2 separate regions of the Homo sapiens genome follow, and region 2 is linked to region 1. Evidence: promoter capture Hi-C in 16 types of primary human blood cells and fetal thymus (Javierre and others, 2016). All regions are on one chromosome and are shown on one strand. The core of a region is centred on a gene start or on the middle of the fragment in contact, and the rest is flanking DNA. Distances in the headings are between cores, read along the strand shown.

Evidence for each region. The method cuts DNA at HindIII sites, captures the fragments that hold promoters and counts their contacts. A CHiCAGO score of 5 or more calls a contact.
Region 2: a fragment that was not itself captured here is called in contact with the fragment with the promoter of GNAI3 in region 1 in 17 of 17 cell types (M2 macrophages, M1 macrophages, megakaryocytes and 14 more); the score reaches 42.7 in M2 macrophages.

The regions. Positions count from the first base shown.
Region 1 is chr1:109,546,761-109,553,976 of GRCh38, reverse strand. GNAI3 (G protein subunit alpha i3) reads right to left here and starts at 5,362. Exons shown (of 9, transcript NM_006496.4): 1 at 5,139-5,362. The coding sequence starts at 5,256. GPR61 (G protein-coupled receptor 61) reads right to left here. Exons shown (of 2, transcript NM_001393907.1): 2 at 6,717-7,216. RefSeq lists enhancers at 5,076-5,245, 5,776-5,835. The HindIII fragment of the contact is 6,158 bases long and covers 1,723-7,216 here.
Region 2 is chr1:109,643,412-109,650,627 of GRCh38, reverse strand. No RefSeq gene overlaps it. Among named protein-coding and RNA genes, the nearest start is that of GSTM4, 9.1 kb to the left of the region's middle. RefSeq lists enhancers at 5,699-6,572, 6,947-7,216. The HindIII fragment of the contact is 1,041 bases long and covers 730-1,770 here.

The DNA of each region.
Region 1 (7,216 bases), core at 4,113-6,612:
CTCAGGAATGGAAAACCAAACATCGTACGTTCTCACTTGTAAGTGGATGCTAAGCTATGAGGATGCAAAGGCCTAAGAATGATACAACGGACTTTGGGGACTCGGGGGAAAGGGTGGGAAGGTGGTGAGGGATAAAGGACTATACATTGGGTACAGTGTAGACTGCTCAGGTGATGGGTGCACCAAAATCTCAGAAATTGCCACTAAACTTATTCACGTAACCAAACATAACCTGTTCCCCAAAAACCTATTGAAATGTTAAAAAAGTGACTAATGCATTTAAATAAAAGACACAAAGAATGATACATGCTTATAAAACACAAAGCTTTTTTTCCCCGAAACACAGATGCATCCTCACATGAAATGTAACTGGCCATGAACCTTATCCCAAGCAAATGGCAAACATAATAAAGGGTATAATCCCATAGGAGGATATAATGTAATGGCATGTTTACCAAAGGGCAGTCTTATTCTCAATAATAAGCATATTCAGCCAATAATATGCAGCAATTTAAATATAATTAACTGTATAATATAGAGTTTAAGTAAATTAGATGATTCCAGTTCTCTGCATGCAACTGGCTTTTTGCCATACTACCACCAGCAAATCCCAAAGAACAAAGTTTTTTTTTATGTTTTCTCAGAACCTGCTAAAGGAAACTATCAAGAAACAGAAATACAGAGAGCAGATAATTCAATAATTTACAAAACTAAGTATCTTCATTAGTACAGTGATGAGTAAAAAAAAAGGACTAACATTTAATTCCTTTCACCACAAAAGGATATTAAAATTCTTTGAAGATCTTTGAAAATAGTATATTAATATGAAAAATAATAAAACAGCTGTCTGAAAAACCTCTGAAAAAAGTAGCTAAAATGGTAATTCTCACGATCATCATCATCAATAGAAGTGACCACTTACTATTTTTTATTTGCTAGGCACTAATGTGAAGCATTTTACATGCATTATCTCATTTCATATTATGAAACATCATCTCTGCTTTACATATGTAAAAATTATTATTCTTATGGTTAAGTTACTTGCTCTGGGTCTCAGAGCTAATAAGTGGAGGTAGAACTTAAATTCAGTTTTGTGTGAATCCAAAAGCAGTGCTCTTATCCATTATACCAGTGCTTCCCAACCTTTGTCACATGATGGCACACATTAAAAATATTTGTAAGGCTCATTGGGGTGAGCTGAAAGAGCTTGGTGAAAAAAAATTTTCTTGCTTGCCCTGGGGTCAAAAAAAAACAAAAACAAAACCCGCACACACAAAATTTCTTATTATGAAATTATGGCATGAAAAAAATACAAAGTATTACAAATGATATTAAATATTAAATTGGTATAAATTTAGTATTTATACCAAATAAAATTTTTTCAAATTACCAAATTCATGGTAGGGTAGGCACAGTGGCTCACACTGGTAATCCCAGCACTTTGGGAGGCTGAGATGGGAGAATCACATGAGGCCAAGCATTTGAGACCAGCCTGGGCAACATAATGAGACCCCCATCTCTAATTGTTTAAATAGTAAATAACCAAATTACCAAATTCATGAATTATACAAGAGGAAATCATACCAAAGATGTTCAAATGTAATTTCAACTGTTGTAAAAGTTTGAACTTATAAAAATGATTTAAAATTTCAATGCTATAAAAAATTTGTAAACAGCACACCTATATGCCATCCTAAGCACTGGAACATTGGTTGGGAAGCTTTGCATGGTATTTTTTCAATAGAATGTCATAATTAAACACTAATTTGATATACCAAGATCTTCCCAAGAACACTTTATTTTTTTTTTTTTTGAGACAAAGAGTCTCACTTTGTCACCCAGGCTAGAGTGCAGTGGCGTCATCTCTGCTCACTGCAACCTCCACCTCCCGGGTTCAAGCGATTCTCCTGCCTCAGCCTCCCAAGTAGCTGGGACTACAGGTGCACACCACCACGCCCGGCTAATTTTTGTACTTTTAGTAGAGATGGGGTTTCGCCATGTTGGCCAGGCTGGTCTCGAACTCCTGACCTCAGGTGATCCACCAGCCTCGGCCTCCCAAAGTGATGGGATTACAGCCAGGAGCCACCACGCCCAGCCCTTTCCAAGAACATCTAAATGAAATTCAAACCAAAGGTTATCAAAGGAAGAATTACAATACTGAAGTGTCTGTAAATAATCTGGCCCACACTAGCTGCTTAATTTGGTATAATTTCCATAATACCTACAATCTGTAACATTCATTTTGACTTAATAAGAATAGCTAATCTTCATGGAGCTAGTACTATGTGCCAAGCTGTGTTCTGCTTTACATTATTACCATATTTAATCCTCACAGCAATCCTAGGAGTAGCTCTATTTTCTCCATTTTAAAGATAAGAAAACTGAGGCCAAGAGAAATTAACTTTCCCAAGGCTATAACTAGTAAATGGGAATTAGGATTTAAAGCAGTCTGACTTCAGGACCCATGCTATTAATCACCATGTTAAACTACACCCCCATAAGAAAGAAAATATATCATGTGTCAGGAGACACAGGGTAAGTAGATAGATCTCAACTTAAACTAAGTTCCATAGTGATAAAGTAAAAATGACTTGCATCTACAGCAAAGGAGACATTATCCAGGAAAAAGAAAACTGTATACTGTTTTGGGTACATTTTGCTTATAGAAATAGCATAGAAGATAATTTTAATTTCCTATGTGTGTTATGATATGGCTCAAGCAAGAACATATGTTTCTGCAACCTATTTGAATTTGTGGATTTAACTTGCTCAAGAATATTTTAAAAATCTTACTTAAAAAAGAATGAAGTTGGTAAAAATTAAAAGCAAATATGTTTAGTACTTTGATTTTTACTTACTGCTTTTCAAGTTCCCTAAGTCAAGTGTCTAATTTTGTTTTTAATTAAATGCACTACAGATAAAATCCTGAACAAAAATTCTTCTAGACATCTGGACAAGTTCCGCCTATCCAAATTCTGCCTGCCTAATCCTGCATTTTGGAAGAAAGTCTCAAAGTTTCCAACTACATTACAATAAACTGATGTCCTAAGGGTATCTCTGTTGGTCAGTGTAAATCAAATCACTCACAGAAGATGAGAATACATCTTTACTTTCATAACCAATCGATCAATAAAGAAAATGCTGGCCAGGCACGGTGGCCTCACGCCTATAATCCCAGCACTTTGGGAGGCCAAGGCGGGTGGATCACAAGGTCAGGAGATTGAGACCATCCTGGCTAACACGGTGAAACCCCGTCTCTACTAAAAATACAAAAAATTAGCCAGGCGTGGTGGCGGGCGCCTGTAGTCCCAGCTACTTGGGAGGCTGAGGCAGGAGAATGGCGTGAACCCGAGAGGTGGAGGTTGCAGTGAGACGAGATCGCGCCACTGCACTCCAGCCTAGGCAACAGAGGGAGACTCCGTCTCAAAAAAAAAAAAAAGTTAACGCCCTGAATGTTATAGTTTATATCAAATTTCTCAAAGGCCCCAAGGACCAGTGTTCAACATTTGCTGGCTCAGGCTGGTTAACAGTAAATATTTAAGGAGCACCTACTAGGTACCAGGGACCATGCATATCCACCTGTTATACAGACAGTCGCAGTCTAGAACTACAATTTGAACTCGCATCTTCTGAAAGTTCAGGTATACAAACCGGAACCTTAAGCTCCAATACATAACTTTCCCTTTATAGTATATTCAAAAAAGCTATTACCAGAGCTTCTGCAATCTACAACCAACCAAATATGTTCACACGAAGAGACTAACAGGGGCACTTAGAATGTACAAAATAAGTCTTGGGTTACAGTGTACATTCTGTTCTCTGGAGCTTTATACCATGAAAATTTAGCATTTCCCCTAAAGTGACTCCTTTTCCTCAAAAATCAATTGTTTTAAAAAGTAAATTTCTATTGCTTGTAAGGGTTTCTGTAGAAACCCCTACTCCTACTTATTCTTCTCTAATGGAAATACTACCCTAGAAAATATTGGAAAATAATGGAAATACTACCCTAGAAAATCTTCACTAATAATGAAGAAATGTGGCTTGATTTATTAGTAAGCTAATGCCAGTATTCTTTGTATGATTTACTGAGCCTCTCAAAAATTTTGAAACTCATGTTGAGTAAAATACATCCGACTGTGTTTAAAAAAAGCCAATTAAAACGACTATCAAATAACATAAACAGTAATTCCTGAAGTCAATGGTTTTGCTTTGAAGAGGCCAAAAAGGATAAAACAGCCACCAGAAGTCTACCATAGTCTTTACAGTGAATATGTCCAACTCTGTAACTTATCCTAAGGTAACTATTCCAACTACACATCATCTATAGCAACTATTCAGCATCCTCCAATGTGTAATCTCTTGTTCACTAGATCTTCTGCTACAAACCTCAAAGAAATCATTCTTTAAATTTCTTCAGCTCACACCATTTCCCATCCTTTTGTAAAAACAGAAGAAGACGTTATAAAACTTTGAAAATAAAAATGATAGGAAACGGTGGAAAAGTAGAGATGGCCTCTGCACCCAAGCTCTTTTCCTTTATACCTGATAACTTGTCATTTATCTCACCTACCTATCTTCATGTTCCTGGATAATCCAGGGTTCTTCCAACAGTTCAAATGGCTCTCTTACTAACAAATGTCAACGTCCTTATGTGACCATTCTGTTCCAGTCTCTGTACCATCCATTCAAGCCTGCTAGCTTTATCCTGCCAAAGAACCACGACGCTCCAAACTCACAAACCATTATACAAGCCCAACATATACTCTATGCCGTTCTCGTTACCAACACGCTCCAACCCAACGTAAAACCTTCCTAGTATCAACTCTTCCTTTATGAGCTTTTCCCATATTCCTACTCCCTCAACATCTACCGGCCCATACTCCCAAGTCTCTCTGCTAAACGCAATTCTAGCCCGGAGTCACACCCTCTACAGCCTAATTCCCGCAACCCCAAAACCCCACCCCCCTCATCACGCCCTCTGGGGCCTCAGCTAGGAACCCCAACACCCCGCCCCACGCCCGGCACGCCCTCCAGATCCCTTTAGGGTCCTTTCCGTCGGCCCGACCAGACCCCGTTCAGGCCTTCCAAGCGCCTAGGCTCTCCCGACCACCACTCAGTCCCCGCCTCCAGCCCCTCACCGAGTAGCAGCAGCTTCACTTCTTTGGCCGCTTTTTCCCCGTCCTCCCGTAAGTTGCGGTCGATCATCTTGCTTCGCTCCACTGCCGCCTTGTCTTCGGCGCTCAACGTGCAGCCCATGGCGGCGGCGGGAGAGGGGACACGGGCCCGGACTCACTCACACCACGGAAACTGCGGCTCGGCAGGCTGAGGCACCGTCTATTGCTGGGCGGTGGCCCTCTCCGTCAGCTCCCTTAGCGCCCAGAAGAACCGGATATCCGACGTTTACGACACTTCCGGCGACGCCCCGCAGCCTTCACCGTTTAAACCACTCTCCTCAGGGAGAGGAGTTGAGACCGAAAGCGGAAGTCACGGGGAGCTGGCGGCTGGGTTGGGCGGCGGATCTGCAGAGTTTCGAGGTTCTGTCAAGTTCGCTGCCCGCCGCCCAACTTGAAGCCTCATTTACCTTTCGGCTACCTGATTTGGATAAATGGAGAAAAACCGGGGCCTCTAACTCATAATGCCCTCCCGCGTTCAAGATGCCAGTTTTGGGGCGGAGATTTCTAAATTAAAGCCTACATCCCGCGCGGGAATATCTGCTGGTAATTTCTCGCCTGCCAGAAAACTCCTTTGATCTCTGGCTGTGGAGACTCGGGACCCCTACCCAAGTATGGGACACTGCCTCCGTTGGGGTTATCTCAGATCAATGGAATGGGAACAAGCTATCCGGCCTGGGCGCCGTTCACGTCTCACATCTGAGATCGTAACACCGACTGTGCTTAGGACCTCAGCAATAACTTTTTGCCGTCTCTGGCCCACTGACTCCTCTCAAAATGTCCCCTGGTCCTTTTGCTATTCACGTATTTCTGTGGGCTTGAGATTTGCTTAACTCCTATATTGGCAAAAGGCCACTTGAAATCGCTAGCAGATACTCGATAACCTGAAAGGTAAGCCTGTAGTTCCTCCATAAAATTTCCATGCTGCCCTTCTCTCCAGTATAATTCAGATCTTCCTACCTTAGGGTCTTAGAACTAAAACCAAGATAAGTCAACTTCAATTCCACACCCCGAAACAAACCAGTGCATCCTGTGAATCTCCTACTAAAATTTCCTGTTGCGATAACATGCAAAAGGAGAGGTTCTAGTAAAATTTGCCTCTCAGCCCTAGTATCACCTGAAACTTAAGTCCACTGTGAAAGTCCCAGGCAGATAGCATCTTTCACTAATAACCCTGGATACTGCGTGAAGGTAGTCCTAAATCAACTTTTCAGGCAAATAAGCCCACAATTACTATACGTTCTAGCGAAGGGAACTCAGTCCCTAAAACCTTTCCCTGTGATTGTAAATTTATTTCTCTAATAGAATCTGAACTTGAGAAAGTAAGGTCCCAACAGAGAGGTTTATATAGTGATGATTCATTAATTAGAAGGATTTAATTAGAGGATTAGAGCCACCTTAAAAAGCCTCGTCCACCTTAACTCTTAGCAATGCCAATTCTTCAAGGTTTGAAAAGTCCCCCAGTCATTCCCAAATGACTGTTAAGAATGAAAGGGACTGCTTTTCCATTATCAATACTTTTGGGGAAAAAGGGCAAGAGGAAAGGGAAGTAAAACCAGTATTTATTGAGTACCTATTTGCCAGATACGGCTAGGTGCTCCCACATCCCATCTCTTAATCCTCACAACAACCCTGTGAGGTAGGTAATAATGATCCCCATTTTTACAGGTGAGGAAGTAGGCTCAGAGAAATTAAGCAGCTTTCCCAACTTCACACAGTGAGTAAGTACATCTATCTGACCCCAGAGTTACCCTTTTCTATCATGCCCCCGTAGGATATTGCCTGGGGACACCTGACAACAGAAAGTCTAAGGTTTTCATCTAGGATTGGGAGTTACCCCAACACCAGCAGGATGCAGGAAAAAGTAACTGACCGGATGGTTGCCTCAATCTGTTGATTCTTCAGTGAGTTAGCTCAGATTTTGTCCAGGAACAGCTTTCAGAGCCAAAGATTACGTATTGAACTTTACCAAGGCATCTGGTGACTAGAAAACTCCTGGAAGGTGGTCATAGCAGAAATTGTTGGGAAAGTTCTCAGCATAATAA
Region 2 (7,216 bases), core at 1-2,500, 100 kb before region 1:
TTGAATCCTCCAAGACCCCTCTTTTCTGTGTGATTTGCAGGAGCATTGATCTTGGTGACGCTACTGGGGTTAGCATGGTGGCCAGCTAAAGTATTACTAGAAATTCTGGGTCTTTGTGCATTGAATGGTGGTCTACTTTTATTACAGCTATTTCCTCAGGTAACAGCAAAGCAGCTGAAAGTTTTATTTTTAATCCGTCATCCAATTTTTGCAGATTTTTGTGGAGGTTAGAAAACTCTTCATTTCCAAAGCATTCCCAATTCACAGACTCCCCAAAAGTGCATCTGCCATTAGTGTATATGCTTACTCTTTTACACTTTAGCAGCCAGCAGACCCAGATGCAGGCAATTATTTCAGTCATTGGAGCTGATTTAATTTCTGGAGTGGTCTCTACTTTAAGGGTGAATTTAGGTCTGTGATAGCATTTTAAAATATGAACAAATAAAATCAGGTCAGGGCTATCCAAGGGAATTTCTAACAAGATGTTTTAAGAGCATGTGAAAAACACTGAGAGTTAACAGAATAATTTGGTGAAAAAAAATAACCTCTAGTAATCTGGGTGCAAAACAACTGAGTCATTTTACATGACAGAGCCAAATCCTAATTTTACTCCTTTGGTACATAATTTTCTAATAGATTATAATAAAGGCTCTATTAATATTCCTTTATTTGTATGCATTTAGGCATACACAGATATATAAATATACAAATAGGTAACAAATTAAAGCTTTCTTTTTTAAGTTGTAATAAAAACACTTAAAATGAGATCTGCTTGTTACCAGTGGAGGGCGTTCAGGTTCTTCGCATTTTGAACAAAGAACTGGACAGAACGCACAAACAAAACAAGGAGCAAACAAATTTTCATTTATTGAAAATGAAAGTACACTCCACAGGGTGGGAGCAGGCCAAGCATAGGGGCTCAAGAGCCCGGATTCAGAATCTTTTGGGGTCCAAATACCTCCTAGAAGTTTGCCATTGGCCACTTGGTGTTCACCCCATGCAAATGAATAGTGGTCCACAATCAGAGGCTGAAGTGAAGTTACAAAGTTACACTTCTATGCAAATATCTGATTGGCTGCAGAAAGCAACCAATCAGAGGAACTGTCCATTTTCCATCTGCAGAGCAGAAAAGCAGGGGGTTTGCAAAGGGAGTAGCTTCTGGTCCTTTTGTTACTTAGGCATGGAAAGTTGGGATTTTCCTTTCGATTTAGCTCTAGAAATTCAGTGTGAATCAGCCTTAGGTTCCCTGCCTCCAGACCCTATTCTCCTGCCGCATACTCTCTTAACAAATTTTTAAGTAAACAGGTACACAGTATTGTTAACTATGAGCACGGTGTTGTATAGCAGATATCTAGAATATGTTTATCTTGTATAACTGAAACTTTATACCTCTTGAATAGCAACTCTCCATTTTGTTACCGAAACACCAGGGATTCAGTCTGAGTCCTGCTGTTTGCTGCACAGATAGCCAACGGCTGAGATGATTACTGCCAAGGAAGAAGGCTTTAATAGAGTGCTGCAGTAGGGGAGATGAGAGATCAGTCTCAAATCCATCTCCCTGACTGGCTAAAATTAGGGGTTTATATAGCAGAGAAAAAAATGTAACAATGTATGGGAAAACAGGAATTCTGAAGGGCTAAGGAAGCAATCATGATGAATGAGGGGCCTGGCATCTCATTGTCTGGATGTGATGATCTGGTGAGTTTCCGTTCTTTGATACCTTCTGAGAGGCCTGGTATTTAATTGTCTGGATCTGGTGAGTTTCAAGCTTTAAGTTTATTTTTTAAAAACTGTCTATGTCCAGGCGCGGTGGCTCACGCCTGTAATCCCAGCACTTTGGGAGGCCGAGGCGGGCGGATCACGAGATCAGGAGATCGAGACCATCCTGGCTAACACGGTGAAACCCCGTCTCTACTAAAAGCACGAAAAATTAGCCGGGCGTGGTGGCGGGCGCCTGTAGTCCCAGCTACTTGGGAGGCTGGGGCAGGAGAATGGCGTGAACCCGGGAGGCGGAGCTTGCAGTGAGCCGAGATCGCGCCACTGCACTCCAGCGTGAGCGACAGAGCGAGACTCCGTCTCAAAACAAAACAAAACAAAACAAAACAAAAACTGTCTCTGGACAGTTGGATTGGTTTTAATTTCCTCCTCTCCCGATCCCCTGAAAACCGTCATTCTACTTTGTTTCTATGAGTTGGCCTATTTTGGATACCCCATGTCAGTGGAATCATGCAGTATTTGTTCTTCTGTGACGAGCTAATTTCACTTAGCATAATGTCCTCCAGGTTCATCCATAGTGTTATATATTGCAGAATTTCCTTCTTTTTAAGACTGATTAATATTTCACTGAATGTACATACCAAATTTTCTTTATTCATTCATCTGTTGATGAATAGTTAGGTCATTTTCATGTCTTGGATATTGTGAATAATGCTACAATGAACAAAGGACTGCTAATATCTCTTTGGGATCCTTCAGTTCTTTTGAATATATACCCAGAAGTGGGATTGCTGGATCATTTGGTAGTTCTATTTTTCATTCTTTTATGAACCTCTATATTGTTTTCCACAGTGGCTGCACAATTTTACTTTCCCACCAACCGTGTACAAAAGTTCCAATTTCTCCTCAACAGCACTTGTTACCAGTTGGGAGCTTGTCTCACTTTCTTTACCTTTTTTTTTTTTTTTTTTTTTTTTTTTTTTGACAATAGCCACTCTAACAGGTGTGAAGTGATATTTCATTGTGGTTTTGATTTGCATTTCTCTTATGATTAGTGATGTTGAGCATCTTTTCATATACCTGTTGGCCATTTGTATGCTTTCTTTTGAGAAATGTCTATTCAAGTCCTTTGCAAGGATGGCTCATCATATGTAAAACAATTAATGTGACACACCACGTTAACAAAATGAAGGATAAACATCAAATGATCATCTCAATAGATGCAGAAAAAGCATTTGACAAAATTCAACATCTTTTCATAGTAAAAACTCTCAACAAACTAGGTATAAAAGGAATTTTCCTTGACAAAATAAAGACCATATATGACAAGCTCACAGCTAACATTATACTCAACAATGAAAAACTGAAAGCTTTGTCTGTAAGATCAGGAACAAGGCAAAGAATACCCGCTCTTGCCACTTCTAGTCAACATAGTACTGGAAGTCCTAACGGAGCAATTAGGCAAGGAAAAGAAATTTAAAAGTCATACAAATTGGAAACGATTAAGTAACACTATCTCTGTTTGCAGATGACATAATCTTATATGTAGAAAACCCTAAAGACTCCACACACAAAAAAAAACTTAGAATGAATAAACAAATTCCATAAAGTTGCAGGATACAAGATCAACATACAAAAGTTAGTTATGTTTTGGTACACTAACAACAAAGTATCCAAAAGAAAATTACAAAAAACAATCCCATTTGCAATAGCACCAAGAAGAATAAAATACTTAGGAATAAACTCAACCAAGGAGATGAAAGACTTGTATGTAACACTGATGAAAGAAATCAAAGAAAACTACATAATATTGATGAAAGAAATCAAAGAAGACACAAGTAAATGGAAAAACATCCCATGTTTATAGATTGAAAGATCTAATAATGTTTAAATGTTCACGCTACTTTGATCTACAGATTCAATGTAATCCCTATCAAAATCTAATGGCATTTTTTTTTTTTTTTTGAGACAAAGTCTCACTCTCTTGCCCAGGCTGGAGTGCAGTGGTGCGATCTCAGCTCACTGCAACCTCTGCCTCCTGGGTTCAAGCAGTTCTCCTGCCTCAGCCTCCCGAGTAGCTGGGATTACAGGCACCCGCCACCATGCCTGCCTAATTTTTATATTTTTAGTAGAGACGGGGTTTTACCATGTTGGCCAGGCTGGTCTCGAACTCCTGACCTCAGGTGATCCACCCATCTTGGCTTCCCAAAGTGCTGGGATGACAGGCATGAGCCACCACACCCAGCCTCTAATGGCATTTTTTTACAGAAATAGGAAAAAATAATCCTAAAATTCATATGGAACCACAAAAGATCCCAAATAACCAACACAATCTTGAGAAAGAAGAACAAAGCTGGAGGCATCAACTTCCTGATTCCAAAATATATTACAAAGCTATAGTAATTAAAACAGTATGGTACTGTCATATAAACAGACACAAGGACCAATGGAACAGAACAGACAGCCCAGAAATAACCTAAGTGTATATAATCAACTGATCTTCAACAGGGTGCCAAGAATACACAATGGACAAACGATGGCCTCTTTAACAAATGGTTTTGGGAAAACTGAATATGGACATACAAAAGAATAAAATTGGACCCCTGTCTTACACCACACTCAAAAATGAGCTCACAATGGATTAAAGATTTAAATATAACACCTAAACCTATAAGACTCCTAGAAGAAAACATAGGAGAAAGTCTTCATGACATTGGTCTAAGCGATGATTTCTTTTATATATCAAAAGCACAGGCAACAAAAGCAAAAATAGACGAATGGAACCACATCAAACTAAAAACCTTCTGCACAGCAAAAGAAACAACAGTGAAAAGGCAGTCTATGGAATTGGAGAAAATATTTGCAAACCACATATCTGAGAAGAGGTTAGCTAACATCCAAAATACATATAGAACTCCCACAACTCAATAGCAAAAATTACTTTAAAGCTTTTAACTATAGCCTTAAAATATAATTGAATAAAATATGTGTATATTAAATGTATTTTGAATAAACTGTAGTAACTTTTCTAAATAAACAGAAAATCATACCTTATTCTGTACACATACCTGTATCTCTCTGCATTAGTGTATCCAGTACAATTAACCATCTACTCTCATTATTATATTTAATTAGAGTAACCAATCTTCTTGTTTTCTCAAAAAAAAAAAAAAAAAAAAAGCCCCGAGAAAAGAAAGTTTAAAACTGTCCAGCTAAGACTGGCCACGGTGCCACCATGCCCAGCCCAGTACTGATATTTTCTGAGATTTGATCTCACACTTGGCTGCGGGGCTTTTACCTAATTCCTTTGAGAACAATCCTGCCTCTGCTACCTTTGGCCAGCTATTGGAAGGGGCATCCAGCTCTCTGCCAGCCACCTCACCCTACTCAGACAGGGGGCCCAACTCCACCTCAAACCAGGAGAAGTGGAAAAGAGTCTTTTTTCCTGCTGTTCGTCTGAAGGTGCAGGTCATCCCTAAGTGCACGTGGCAGTCCAGGTCTCCCCTGTGCCCTGGAACATCCTTCTCCCTGGCCTCTGCTCCTGGGTGTCTTGAGAAACATAACTTCTTGATCACCAATTTAAGTATGACAGTGGGGTTTAGAAAAAAGCTATGTTCCCTTTAAAGAAGGGGCTTATTTGCTTTTGCTAATAATCCCAGCCAATACTTACTGAGTGTCTATGACTTGTCTACTATATATACCTCCTCACCAAATTCTCAAAACATCTCTTTGAATTATTTCTTTCTTCCCTCATTTTATGGATGAGAAAACTGAGGCTCAGGAAAATTAAGTAACTTGCCCAAGGACACACAGCTAGCAAGTCACCAAGTTGTATCTGACCAGTCCAGTCAACCCCAAGACCTGGGTCTACCCAGGACACCACACTGCCTACAAAACGCTGCAGGGTGAAACCACAGGATCCAAAGAGCCAACAACAATCCAAGACTTTCCAGACACCGTGGGGGCTGATAGTAGACAAACTTGGCCCTAGGCCAAGAGGCCCTCACGTGCCAAGCACTGTAGGCATTTCTTAGAATTCTTTGTGTCTTTTGTTTTCATTATCAGCAAGAAATGCTACTTCACAAGGCTGGAATATTTCGTGTAATGTGATCCTATAAACACACGCTAAGCGGGGAGTAAACAAGGCAGCAGACATGCCGGAGAGAGACCTGAGCCCGAATGCGTGGGAAAGCTTCAGAGCAGTGCACCGGGGAACACAAACATCATTGGCTGCAAAAAAGGTCCCTGTAATGACCTTTGTCATTTGGGGTTTACTGTTGCTGTTTCCCTAAATACAAAGAAAGTGCACAAAGAGGCCAGGCGCAGTGGCTCACGCCTGTAATTCCAGCACTTTGGGAGGCCGAGGCGGGTGGATCACGAGGTCAGGAGATCGAGACCATCCTGGCTAACACGGTGAAACCCCGTCTCTAAAAATACAAAAAATTAGCTGGGCGTGGTGGCGGGCGCCTGTAGTCCCAGCTACTCGGGAGGCTGAGGCAGGAGAATGGCGTGAACCCGGGAGGCGGAGCTTGCAGTGATCCGAGGTGGCGCCACTGCACTCCAGCCTGGGCGACAGAGCGAGACTCCGTCTCAAAAAAAAAAAAAAAGACAAAGAAAAAGCAAAGAAAAGAAAGCAAGTGCACAAAGAGAGAATGAGGTCAAGTGGGGGAGGCAATGAGTTCAATCTGGCAGGAATGCACAGCAGGTTATAAAGATGGCCCCAGAACACGGGAGCTGGGCCATGGATGCATGCAGGGGTTTGACCTGGGGTTGGGGGGACAAGCAGGAATCTCCAGGTAGCAATCTTGGTGGTGGTGGGGTTCTGGCAGCTCTGCCTGTGGTGCAGCATCAGGGGTTAAGGACGTCCTCCAGAGGAGCGGCGAGGGAAACTAGGGGTGTCAGTAGACGATCTGGGATTCCAGGCCGCCTCCAGCCTGGCTGAGAACTGCCGGATCAAACAGAAAGCAGAGGTGATGCTTTCTCATTCAGACGGGGCTGGGTGGGAAGGAAAGGCTGTGGCTTTATGGCACACACAAAGTGTGTGGGGTCAGGACATACCGCAGATCCCCAGCTCCCTGAACCCTCCGCCTGCCTCTCCCGCGCTGGCCCAGCCCCGCAGGCAGAGGCACGAGCCATTGATGCAGTATTTGAAGGTGGCTGAACCCAAGCAGGAGGTGCAGCCTCTACCCGAGAGGGGGTGCAGGCAGAAGAGTGGGAGAGAAGCCTGGAGGTCTCCTGTGGCCAACGGGCCCCATGCCTGCCCCTCAGCAGCATGGGATGACTGGCGAACCCCAGCCGACCCCACATTTACTAGACTCCACGGCTACCGGTAGGGTTACAAGTTTAAGTGACTCTGAGGCCTAAACCTCCGCCCGATTTCTGGGGAGAGTCCAGCAGCGCGCCCTGGTGGCCAACCGTGCACCTCCCAGGTAGGGAAAGGCCCGCGGGGTCCCTCCTGCCTGCGGGATCCTCAGGCCAGTCCCGCGGGCGCTGCTCTGCT